2 separate regions of the Homo sapiens genome follow, and region 2 is linked to region 1. Evidence: promoter capture Hi-C in 16 types of primary human blood cells and fetal thymus (Javierre and others, 2016). All regions are on one chromosome and are shown on one strand. Each heading gives the region's core, a stretch centred on a gene start or on the middle of the fragment in contact. The rest is flanking DNA. Distances are from core to core; before and after follow the strand shown.

What was found. The method cuts DNA at HindIII sites, captures the fragments that hold promoters and counts their contacts. A CHiCAGO score of 5 or more calls a contact.
Region 2: a fragment that was not itself captured here is called in contact with the fragment with the promoter of NAA25 in region 1 in 1 of 17 cell types (monocytes); the score reaches 5.3 in monocytes.

The regions. Positions count from the first base shown.
Region 1 is chr12:112,104,893-112,111,092 of GRCh38, forward strand. NAA25 (N-alpha-acetyltransferase 25, NatB auxiliary subunit) reads right to left here and starts at 3,891. Exons shown (of 24, transcript NM_024953.4): 1 at 3,824-3,891. The coding sequence starts at 3,881. RefSeq lists an enhancer at 1,559-2,060 and silencers at 3,661-3,740, 3,761-3,840. The HindIII fragment of the contact is 1,965 bases long and covers 2,859-4,823 here.
Region 2 is chr12:111,586,705-111,592,904 of GRCh38, forward strand. All of the region lies in intron 1 of ATXN2 (ataxin 2), which reads right to left. Among named protein-coding and RNA genes, the nearest start is that of ATXN2, 9.5 kb to the right of the region's middle. RefSeq lists a silencer at 5,367-5,541. The HindIII fragment of the contact is 4,595 bases long and covers 416-5,010 here.

The sequences.
Region 1 (6,200 bases), core at 2,641-5,140:
CCTGTAACCCAGCTACTCAGGAGGCTGAGGCAGAGAACTGTTTGAACCCAGGAGGCAGAGGTTGCAGTGAGCCAAGATCGCGCCACTGCATTCCAGCCTGGGTGACAGAGCAAGACTCCTTCTTAAAAAAATAATAATAATAATGGGCAGGGCGCAGTGGCTCACGCCTGTAACCCCAGCACTTTGGGAGGCCAAGGCAGGCAGATTGCTTGAGCTCAGGAGTTCGAGACCAGCCTGAACAACATGGTGAAATGCTGTCTCTACAAAAAATACAAAAATTAGCCAGGCGTGGTGGTGCCCGCCTGCAGTCCCAGTACTCAGGAGGCTGAGGTGGATGGATGACTTGAGCCTGGGAAGTGGAGGTTACAGTGAGCCAAGACACTCCAGCCTGGGTGACAGAGCCAGATCCTGTCTCAAAAAAATAACGAAAGAAGGCACTGGGGCTTACCAAGTCACACAAGAGTACAAAATCTGCTGGGAACTACGTAGCAAAAGAGAATAATTTTAGCAAAAGGAGACCAAATAATCAAGTATGGGTTCCAGTAAGGTCATGGGTGGAGGTTTTCAAAAACGAAAAATGCAATACCCAAACTTATTAGTAATGTGAGATGCACTGGGAAGATGTTTCAAATCTATGCACACAGAAAAGCTATTCCAACCCTAGACACCACCAGTAAAATTTCAACCCACCACAATTTATCACCACATAGCCCTGTCCACATATACCCTCAATGAATTCCAGCAAGAGCTGAGGCCCCAAGCAAGGTTTCCAACACAATTGTAAAATAAATCCTGAAACCTTGGCAGTACAAATACTGTTGTACAAAGACAGTGATGCTACTGAATCTGAACTTGGTGAAGAGCTGAGCTCTCAGTGAGAATGTCTATGTTCAAATCCCAGCTCTACAACTTGGTAGCTACAACCTTGAGCAAGTTAATCTCTAGGCTTCAGTTTGATCACAATAATCTTACCTACCTAATAGGGCAGTCAGCCCACCAGTAAACACTAATTAATGCTGATAGTTGTTGAATTTTTGGCTGGTGGGCAAGTACCACCATAGATGAGTTTGTTCATTTGTCAGAATGTCTGAATTCAAGGAACCATGGTTGTTTGGGGGTAGTAATGTATTTAAACAACAAAAGTGTGGAGTTCAAAAGTCAAATGTGCTTAAGTGCTGAATTCACGGACAGTCTGTACCGTTCTTTTCCTAGTCCTGCCAGTTTATACTAATCGCCTTAGAATTACTGAAGAAAGCCTCTTCTAATCCTCTTCCCATGTACATGTTACAAAAGCTACATAATTCTGACTTCAGTTTTGAGAATATAACTTGTTAATATATCCTGATGTTTAGTGATGTGAAATGGACATGGTGTTTCCCATTAGACAGTCAAAACACTATTAATTCTAAATAACTATGGGACCAAAGAAATTCTCTTTGGTCCTCAAGAACAATTTTAAAAATCAAATTATTCTTGAAAGTATTGAGTGTTTTTAGTTTAAAAAAAAAAAAGTCTGCAGGCAGCTGCTGCACAAAGCTGTAATGAGTCACAAACTATGAACCCTGGATTCAGTTCTCACCTTCCATCACCCACCTTGTATATATATCTCTGCCCTCTGAAAATATACACTGGAGGGCAAGGGCATGAGAATATGCAGCCCCGGGGAAATAGGAAATCAGAGTCCTTTCTCTGCCACTTACCATCTGTGTGACCTCAGGCAAATCAGTGTCTTCAGCTCAAAGTGAGGTAGTTTCTAGCACAGTGGTTAAGAAGGTGAGCCTGGGCCAGGCACAGTGGCTCACACCTGTAATCCCAGCACTCTGGGAGGCTGAGGCAGGACTGCTTGAGCTCAGGAGTTTTAGACTAGACTGGGCAACATGACGAAACCCATTCTCTACAATATATACAAAAATTAGCCGGCATGGTGGCGGGCACCTGTAATCCCAGCTACTCAGGAGACTGAGGCAGGAGAATCACTTGAACCCAGGAGGCGGAGGCTGGTTGCAGTGCACTGTGATTGTGCAACTGCACTCTAGCCTGGATGACAGAATGAGACTGTCTCCAAAAAAAAAAAAAAAAAAAAAAAAAAGGTGAGCCTGGAGCCAGGCATGGTGGCTCACACCTATAATCCCAGCACTTTGGGAGGCTGAGTAGGTCAAGAGTTCAAGTCCAGCCTGGCTAACATGGTAAACTCCTGTCTCTACTAAAAACATGGAAGTTCGCTGGGCCTGGTGGCGTGCAACTGTAATCTCAGCTACTCAGGAGGCTGAGGCAGGAGAATCGCTTGAACCTGGGAGGCAGAGGGTGCAGTGAACTGAGATTGTGCCACTGTACTCCAACCTGGACGACAGAGTGAGACTCATCTCAAAAGAAAAAAAAGGTGAGCCTGAAACAGTCCACAGGGGTTCAAATTCTAGCTCCAAGAAATACTAACTGAGTGGCCTTAGACAAATTACACAACAACAATAAAGCCTCAGTTTCCTCATCTGTTTTTTTTTTTGTTGTTGTTGTTGTTAAAGGGTTCAGGGGCAGGAAAAAACAGTAGCCACCTCTTGAGAATGGGTGAAGATTATATTAGATAACCCATATAAAAGGCCAAGGCCAGTGACTGTCATAATGAGTCATCTATAAACCTTAGCTATAGGATTGTTGCTAAAATCAAATGAGATGTGAGAGTAAAAAAAAAAATCACACAAATTATGAAATAAAAGCCGGACTAACTGTGGCCAGAAACAAAGTTAACCACCGCCCCCCGCTCCCAAAACGATTCCCACCTTGGAGAGAAGCCTCCAATTTAGTAACATCCACATGAGGTCTATAAATACGATGTCTACTTTTGTAAAAACCACTGACCTTGAAGCTTCCTCACCATTAAGTGAGATAGACCAAGACCATAAAACCATCTAAGAGGAAAGGAAATGCAAAAAGGACCAATCCAATTACACATTTCGGTTATTGGAAAAGGGTTTCTCCCAAACTCAAAATCTGTGATTTTTCACTACCAGGGTAAATGGATGAGATGACATCAAGGTCTTCAAGTCTGCGGGTTGAGGTAAGAGTTGTGGAGAGGGATCTGCTTAGCACAGGGAAGGAAAGCTGCAGAGAAAACCACAGAGAAGCTGCAGAAAGGAGAAGCCCTCCAGTAGCTCTGCATGCCCCTCTGACACGAGCTATCACAATCTCTTCACCGCTATTTTAGGCCCAAGACCCCCTCCCCCCGCCTCCCACGTGTGACCAGAGTAGCTGCTTCTCCACCCAACAGCTCTGGATTGGGAGCCTGGAATCTCGGGCCTGCTCCTGACTCGATCTGGGTGACCTTGCGTCAGCCCCTTCCCCACTCCGGACCTCAGTTTCTCCTATGCACCGAAGCCCACCTAGTCAGACAACCCTCTAGGCCCAATTCCCGTAAATAAAAAAAAATCTCTGGTAGGGAATCTTCCCTCAGGCAGGGCGTCCCACCCTCGTGCCGGAGCCGGCTTCCACCTTCGGGGAGATCTCCGGTCTCCCTAGGAGCGGCGGTAACGATGCAGCCTGCGGGTAGCGCAGGTGTCTGCAGAACCACGCGTCCCACGGGGCCTGCCAAGCAGGCCAGCTCTGCCGACCAGCTGCTGCCCAGACCGCGCCACTACCACCCCAAGGCTGAGGAAGGTTGGGCCGGCGCCTACGCGAGGCCCGCGGCTGCGGCCTAGTGGCCCGCGCGGCCCGCCCCCCTGCGCCTGCCCGGCCCGCGCGCCGGCCCTCAGCACCCCTCCTGGGCTTTCGCCCCAGCCTCGGCAGCCCTCGGCGCGTCGGGCTGGCGAGCGGGCTGGTCCAAGACACTCACCGTAAATGGGCCGGAGGCGCCTGTCGTTAGGGTCCTGCACATGGCCCCGCGTCGCCATGATGACAAGCGCAGAACCACAGTGCGCACGCGCGGGGCAGGACCCCGGGAAAGGGCTATTAAAGGGCCAGCGTCGATCTCGCTTGTCTATCACGATAGTCGCGGTGCTGCGACTGAACGCGCCTGCGCGGAAAGGGAAGCATCCACCCTTGCCGATTGCCACCTCTTTAAACGCTGTTCCTTCACTTAGCAGGTGGGATCAAGCTGGCAAGAGGAGGCAGCTGTTGCTGTTAAAGTCTTCCGAGTCACTGACTGGGAAGTTAGGAGAGGAGGGGAGAAAGCTCTCAAAGTTAGGGTTCGGCTGCTCCTGTTTATCCTATTTATTCTCCGTCCTGAAGAACCAGCTAGACTTGGCTGTGATTAATCGCAGAGGAACCAGAAACTCCCGGGGGAGAGAGACCCAGGGGAAAGTTGGGGAAGCGGGGCTGATCAACAGCAAAAATCTGCCAAAAAAGTTCGAGAGAGCCGGGCGCTGTGGCTCAGCCTGTAATCCCAGCACTTTGGGAGGCCGAGGCGGGCGGATCACAAGGTCAGGAGATCGAGACCATCCTGGCTAACACGGTGAAACCCCATCTCTACTAAAAATACAAAAAAAGTTAGCGGGGCGTAGTGGCGGGCGCCTGTAGTCCCAGCTACTCATGAGGCTGAGGCAGGAGAATGGCGTGAACCCAGGAGGCGGAGCTTGCAGTAAGCCGAGATCGCGCCACTGCACCCCAGCCTGGGCGACAGAGCGAGACTCCATCTCAAAAAAAAAAAAAAAAAAAGAAAAAAGTTCGAGAGCCCTCCACCACCTGTTCCTGGACCAAACTGAGCGTCAGGCTGCTGTTTCTCCTGGTTCAGTAAGGAGATGCAGATGAACTGGAGAGGAAGCGAGTTTTTATTTCTGCAACCAGTTACAGGGAGAAGGCCTGGAAATTATCACCAGACCAACTTAAAATTACAAAGCTTTCCAGAGCTTATATACCTTCTAAGCTATATGTCTACGTGTAAATGTGCATTCATCTAAAGACATAAGTGATTAACTCGCCGGGCGCGGTGGCTCATGCCTGTAATCCCAGCACTTTGGGAGGCCAAGGCGGGCGGATCACGAGGTCAGGAGATCGAGACCACGGTGAAACCCCATCTCTACTAAAAATACAAAAAATTAGCTGGGCGCAGTGACAGGCGCCTGTAGTCCCAGCTACTAGGGAGGCTGAGGCAGGAGAATGGCGTGAACCCGGAAGGCGGAGCTTGCAGTGAGCCGAGATCCCGGCACTGCACTCCAGCCTGGGCGAGGGAGGCTCCGTCTCAAAAAAAAAAAAATAATAATAATAATAATTGATTAACTCACTTTAGTCTATAACTAAGGTTTGAGTCCTGAAGACTTTCCTTTGAAGCCTCAGTAAATTTACTTAATCTAAATGGCAATAGGTGCTGGGGTGATTATCCTTATCTTGCCTCCTACTAAATCACGGAGGTTTGGGGAGTTACTTCAGACCCCCAATAAAATTTGTTTAATCCTAAATGGGTCCTGTTAGGAATTCTTTCGTTATTTTGTCATGCTTTAAGGCCAAGGAAAGGCCTAGGCAAAACTCTTGGTGGGCTTTTGTTACATTCCATCCTTTGTATAAGGGCACTGGCTTTTTTTTTTTAGCTTTTAATATGTAACTTAACCACTCAGTTAGTACTGAAACAGTTGTTATGGAGGCCTGTGTTAGTGAGACCTGGCCTGCCACACACCCTTCTCCCAGGACTCAGCCAACAAAGAAGCATCCTAGATGAATACTTACTCGGTATCTGCCTAGAGTATTTAAATGCAAGGTCTTTACATTTATTCTCTCATTTAATTTTCATAACTGTCATCGTATTTCCCTGGGAGGTAGATCTTATTATTACCTCTCTTTTTACAGATAGATTTATTCGTACAACACTGAGTTATTGAGTGCCTATTATTTGACACACTCTTGTTTTAGGCACAGAGGATACATCAATAAATAAAATAGACAGAGACTTAATGGAGTTTTTATTTGTAGTGAGGGAGACAGACAATAAATAAGTAGATAGCCTATTACATGGTGATAAATGCTACTGAGAAAAATAAAGCAGGAAAGGGGGGCAGTGAGAGAGGGAGGTAATTTTAAATAGTGTGGTAAGGCTGGCTTGGTGGCTCACCCCTGTAATCCCACCACTTTGGCAGGCCAAAGTGGGTGGATCACATGAGGTCAGGGGTTCAAGACAAGCCTGGCCAACATGATAAAACCCCTTCTCTGCTAAAAATACAAATATTAGCTGGGTGTGGTAGTGTGAGCCTGTAACCCCGGCTACTCAGGAGGCTGAGGCA
Region 2 (6,200 bases), core at 1,463-3,962, 520 kb before region 1:
GAGACAGGGTTTCACCATGTTGGCCAGACTGGTCTCGAACTCCTGACCTCAAGTGATCCACCCTCCTTGGCCTCCCAAAGTGCTGGGATTACAAGCGTGAGCCACCGCACCCAGCTAAGTCTTTCAACTTTCTATCACGCTACTGTTATTTCTCATTGCTGTTAATATATCTGCCTCTGAAAACATTGCTTTTCTACTTGCTGCCAATATGTACATCAGAAAAGAAAGCTAGATAGAATCATGTGTAAAGTAAAAGTTCTCAAAGAGGCCATAAAGAACTCTCCAGACCAGAGGCTAAAGCAGGAGGACAGTTTAAGCCCAGAAGTTGGAGGCCAGCCTGGGCAACATAACAAGACCCCCATTTCTACCAAAAAAAAAAAAAAAAAAAAGAACTCCCCTTTCTAAAATCTGCTCAAGCTTCAGTGAAAAGACATTTAGTCTTCAATTCCTGATTTCGAAATGTGTTTCAGGAATGAAAATAGTTAACTGCACAAAGTCCACAGCAAATGTTTATAAACCCGAAAAGAAAAATGCAGTACTTGTTTCAAAACCCGCCCTTTATAAAAAACTAAAATTATAATCAAGATTAATTCCACTTAGAAAAATTATTAAGAATATTTTAACATGACTTTAAAAAGCAATATGAAAAACGTCAATGAAAAATATTTGACCTGGCCAGCCACGGTGCCTCACACATGTAATTAAAGCACTTTGGGAAAACTAGGTGGGTGGATCATTTGAATTTAAGAGTTTGAGACCAGCCTGGGCAACATGGCTAAACCCTGTCTCTACAAAATATACAAAAGCCAGGCATGGTGGCATACACCTGTAGTTCCAGCTACTCGGGAGACTGAGGTAGGAGGACTGCTTGAGCCCAGGATGTTGAGGCTGCAGTGAGCCATGACCATACCACTATACTCCAACCTGGCCAACAGGGTAAGACTCAGTCTCAAAAAAAAGGAAATTTAAAAAAAAACTGATCATTGGCAACACTGTTCAATAAAGCCTCTCAAGGCAATGGTTTCAGGAGACCAACATTCTAAAGTTCTGATACAGTTAATAAAAATAAACCACGTTCACTTATATTGCCGACAAGCCTCATACCACAACTAATGAGTTTTACAAAGACTTCATTATAGAATGAAATTTTATTACATTCCCAAAATGTAGTTAGCTATTAATCATGGCACGAAACTGACATTTTCGGGCTGGACACAGTGGCTCACACCTGTAACACCAGCATGTTAGGAGGCCTAAGTGGGGTGGATCACTCGAGGCCATGAGTTCAAGATCAACATGGCAAAACTCCACATCTACTGAAAATACAAAAAAACTAGGCAGGCACTGTGGGGCGCACCAGTAGTTCCAACTACTTGGGAGGCTGAGGTGGGAGGATGGCTTGAACCCGGGAGACAGAGGTTGCAGTGAGCCGTATTTGCAACACTGCACTCCAGCCTTAGCAACAGAGCCAGATCCTATCACAAAAATAAATAAATAAATAAATAAATAAATAAATAAAACAAATTGACATTGTAAAGTCACTTGACACAACTTCAGGGTTAAAATTACAAGCAATCTATGTAAGAATCTTTAAATGTTAATGAGAATTTCAAATTTTCACATGAATGCAAACACAAATAATTACCAGCAAATAAAAAGTTAAGGTTGCCAGGCATGGGAGGCCAAGGCAGGTGGATCACTTGAGGCCAGAAGTTCCAGACCAGCCTGGCCAATATGGTGAAACCCCATCTCTACTAAAATACAAAAATTAGCCAGGCGAGATGGTGCGTGCCTGCAGTCCCAGCTACTCAGGAGGCTGAGGCAGAAAAATCGCTTTAACCTGGGAGGCAGAGGTTGCAATGAGCCGAGATCGCACCACTGCACTCCAGCCTAGGTGACAGAGCGAGACTCCGTCTCGGAAAAAAAAGAAAAAAAAAAAGTTAAGGTTAACAGCTGTGACAAGTTTTCATAAACAACCCAGACTCATAAAAAAAATACCAAACCAGGCCGGACGCGGTGGCTCATGCCTATAATCCCAGCACTTTGGGAAGCCGAGGCGGGCAGATCAAGAGGTCGGGAGATTGAGACAATCCTGGCTAACACAGTGAAACCCCATCTCTACTTAAAATGCATAAAAAAAATTAGCCGGGCATGGTGGCGGGCGCATGTAGTCCCAGCTACTCGGGAGGCTGAGGCAGGAGAATGGCATGAACCTGGGAGGTGGAGCTTGCAGTGAGCTGAGATTGTGTCACCGCACTCTAGCCTGGGCGACAGAGCGAGATTTCTCAAAAAAAAAAAAAAAAAAAAAAAAAAAAAAAAACTAAACCAAACTGGTCACGGTGGCTCACACCTGTAATCCCAGCACTTTGGGAGGACGAGGCGGGTGGATCATCTAAGGTCAGGAGTTCGAGACCAGCCTGGCCAACATGATGAAACCCCATCTCTACTAAAAATACAAAAATTAGCCAGGCATGGTGGCACACAGCTGTTATCCCAGCTACTCAGGAGGCTGAGGCAGGACAATCACTTGAACCTAGGAGGCGGAGGTTGCAGTAAGCCGAGATCACATCACTGCATTCCAGCCTGGGTGACAGGGTAAGATCCTGCAACACACACACACAAACAATAATAATAATTTAAAAAACCAGCCAGGCATAGTGGCTCACACCTGTAATCCCAGCACCTTGGGAGGCCAAGGAGGGCAAATTGTTTGAGGTCAGGAATTCAAGGCCATCCTGGGCAACAGGTAAAATCTCTGTCCCTACAAAATAAAAACAAACAAAAAAGCTAGGCGCAGTGGCTTATGCCTGTAATTCCAGCACTTCAGGAGGCCAAGGTATATGGATCACCTGAGGTCGGGAGTTCGAGACCAGCCTGGCCAACATGATAAAACCCCATCTCTACCAATAATACAAAAATTAGCCAGGTGTAGTGGCGCATGCCTATAATCCCAGCTACTCGGGAGGCTGAGGCATGAGAATCATTTGAACGCAAGAGGCAGAGGTTGCACTGAGCCGATATCCTGCCACTGCACCCCACCCTAGGCAACAGAGTGAAACAAAAATTTTGCTGGGCATAGTGGCGCATGCCTGTGGTCCCAGCTACTCAGGAGGCTGAGATAGGAGGATCACTTGGGCCTGAGAACTCGAGGTTGCAATGAGCCATGATGGCACCACTGCACTCCCGCCTGGGTGACAGAGCTAGAACCTGTCTCAAAAAAATAAGGCGAGGCGCAGTGGCTCATGCTGTAATCCCAAAACTTTGGGAGGCCAAGACAGGCAGATCACCTAAGGTCAGGAGTTCAAGACGAGCCTGGCCAACATGGTGAAACCCCATCTCTACTAAAAAAAAATACAAAAATTTGCCAGGTGTAGTGGTGCATGCCTGTAATCCCAGCTACTCAGGAGGCTGAGGCAGGAGAATCACTGGAACCTGGGAAGTGGAGGTTACAGTGAGCCGAGATTATGCCACTGCTTTCCAGACTGGGTGACAGAGTGAGACTCTGTCTCAAAATAAATAAATAACCAAGGATTTAACATTTATGTAGATTTCACACCACGTAAGTACAGAACCACATACATTAAAAACAAAGAAAAGAAAATAGACCTCCTATTTTAGCAAGCCAAAATCAAGGTTACAAAAAGATATCCTGAAGGGCAAGTACTGTCCGTGACTGTATTCCATAAAACAAGCCTGTTAGGGGGCCGGACGCAGCAGCTCACGCCTGTAATTCCAGCACTTTGGGAGGCTGTTGGGCGGATCACAAGGTCAGGAGATCGACACCATCCTGGCCAACATGGTGAAACCCCGTCTCTACTAAAAATACAAAAATTAGCTGGGCATCACAGTGTGCGCCTGTAGTACCAACTACATGGGAGGCTAAGGCAGGAGAATCGCTTGAACCCGGGAGGCAGAGGTTGCAGTGAGCTGAGATCGTGCCACTGCACTCCAGCCTGGTGACAGAGCGAGACTCCATCTAATTAAAAAAAAAAAAACAGGCCTGTTAGGAACCAGACTGCACAACAGGAGCTGTGTGAGCATTAGCACCTGAGCCCCACCTGTTAGATCAGGTGCAGCATTAGGTTCTTATAGAAGCACAAACCCTACTGGGAACTGCATATAGCAAGAGATGTAGGTTGTATGCTCTTTATGAGAATCTAACAAATGCATAATGATCTGAGGTGGAACAATTTTTTTTTTTTTAGACGGAGTCTCACTTTGTCCCCCAGGCTGAAGTACAGTGGTGCTATCTCAGCTCACTGCAAGCTCTGCCTCCCGGGTTTCATGCCATTCTCTTGCCTCGGCCTCCGGAGTAGCTGTGACTACAGGCGCCCTCCACCGCGCCCAGCTAATTTTTTTGTATTTTTAGTAGAGGGGGGTTTCACCATGTTAGCCAGGATGGTCTCGATCTCCTGACCTCGTGATCTGCCCGCCTCGGCCTCCCAAAGTGCTGGGATTACAGGCGTGAGCCACCGTGCCCGGCCGGTGGAACAGTTTCATCTCAAAATCATCCCCTGCCCCTATGGAAAAACCATCTTCCACAAAACCGGTCCCTAGTGTTAAAAAGGTTGAGGACCATTGCCTTAAAATACACAGCATGATCTTGTGTATATATTACGTTTCTATTTATTTCAAGGGAGGGGCCCCAGAACTTAAAATTTAAAAATAAAAATAAAGGGAGGGGGCTCGGTGCAGTGGCTCACACCTGTAATCTCAGCACTTTGGGAAGCTGAGGCAGGAGGATCACTTGAGCCCAGGAGTTTGAGACCAATCTGGGCAACATGGCAGGACCCTGTCTCTACAAAAAATTTAAATGTTAGCCAGCTGGTGTACACCTGTAGTTCCAGCTACTCAGGAGGCTAAGACAGGAGAAATGCTTGGCCCCATAGATTGAGGCTGCACTCCAGCCTGGGTGACAGAGGGAGACCTTGACTCTAAAAAAATAAATAAAGGGAGAGGTGTAATAAAATCCTACAAATATTGCTTTGGGCAAGTCCCCTAATCTCTCAAAGCTTAGAGTTTTTGCCTTCCATTTTTAAGATTTAGGATTTTTTGTTGTTGTTGTTGTTGTTACTGTTTTTTAAGAGACAGGGTAGGCTGCGCACGGTGGCTCATGCCTATAATCCCAGCACTTTGGGAGGCCAAGGCAGGTGGATCGCTTAAGGTCAGGAGTTCGAGATGAGCCTAACCAACATGGTGAAACCCTGTCTCTGCTAAAAATACAAAAATTAGCTGAGTGGGGTAGCAGGCACCTGTAATCTCAGCTACTCAGAAGGCTGAGGCAGGAGAATCGCTTGAACCCGGGAAACAGAGGTTGCAGTGAGCTGAGATTGCACCACTGCACTCCAGCCTGGGAAAGAGCAAAACTGTCTCAAAAAAAAAAAAAACACCTTAGCTCATGAGGCTGGGCGGGGGTGGCTCACGCCTGTAATCCCAGCACTTTGGGAGGCCGAGGCAAGCGAATCACCTGAGGTCAGGAGTTCAAGAGCAGCCTGGCCAACATGGTGAAACTCCATATCTACTAAAAATGCAAAACTTAGCCAGGCATGGTGGCGGGTGCCTGTAATCCCAGCTATTCGGGAGGGCTAAGGCAGGAGAATTGCTTGAACCTGGGAGGCGGAGGTTGCAGTGAGCCAAGATCACGCCACTGCACTCCAGCCTGGGCGACAGAGACTCTGTCTCAAAAACAAACAAAAAAACCCTTAGATGGTAACAGTAACATCATAGATGACCCAGATATCCTTTGGAAAAAAACAAAAAAAACACAAGTACTTTCATTTAAAAAGATACGGCAGCGGCCAAGCACGGTGGCTCATGCCTGTAATCCCAGAACTTTGGGAGGCTGAGGCAGGTGGATCACCTGAGGTCAGGAGTTTGAGACCATTCTAGCCAACATGGTGAAACCCTGTCTCTACTAAAAATACAAAAATTAGCCAGGCGTGGTGGTGTGCGCATGTAGACCCAGCTACTCAGGAGGCTGAGGCAGGAGAATCACTTGAACCCGGGAGGCAAAGGTTGCAGTAAGCAGAGATCGTGCCACTGCACTCCAGCCTGGGCGACAGAGCAAGACTCCGTCTCAAAAAAAAAAAAAAAAAAAAAAGATAATAGGTGTGACTGTTAATAAACTGTTTACATCTCCGTTGAAGTTGTCACAATCACTTGAAATAGCTAAAAAAAAAAATAGGGTTTTGTTCATGCTC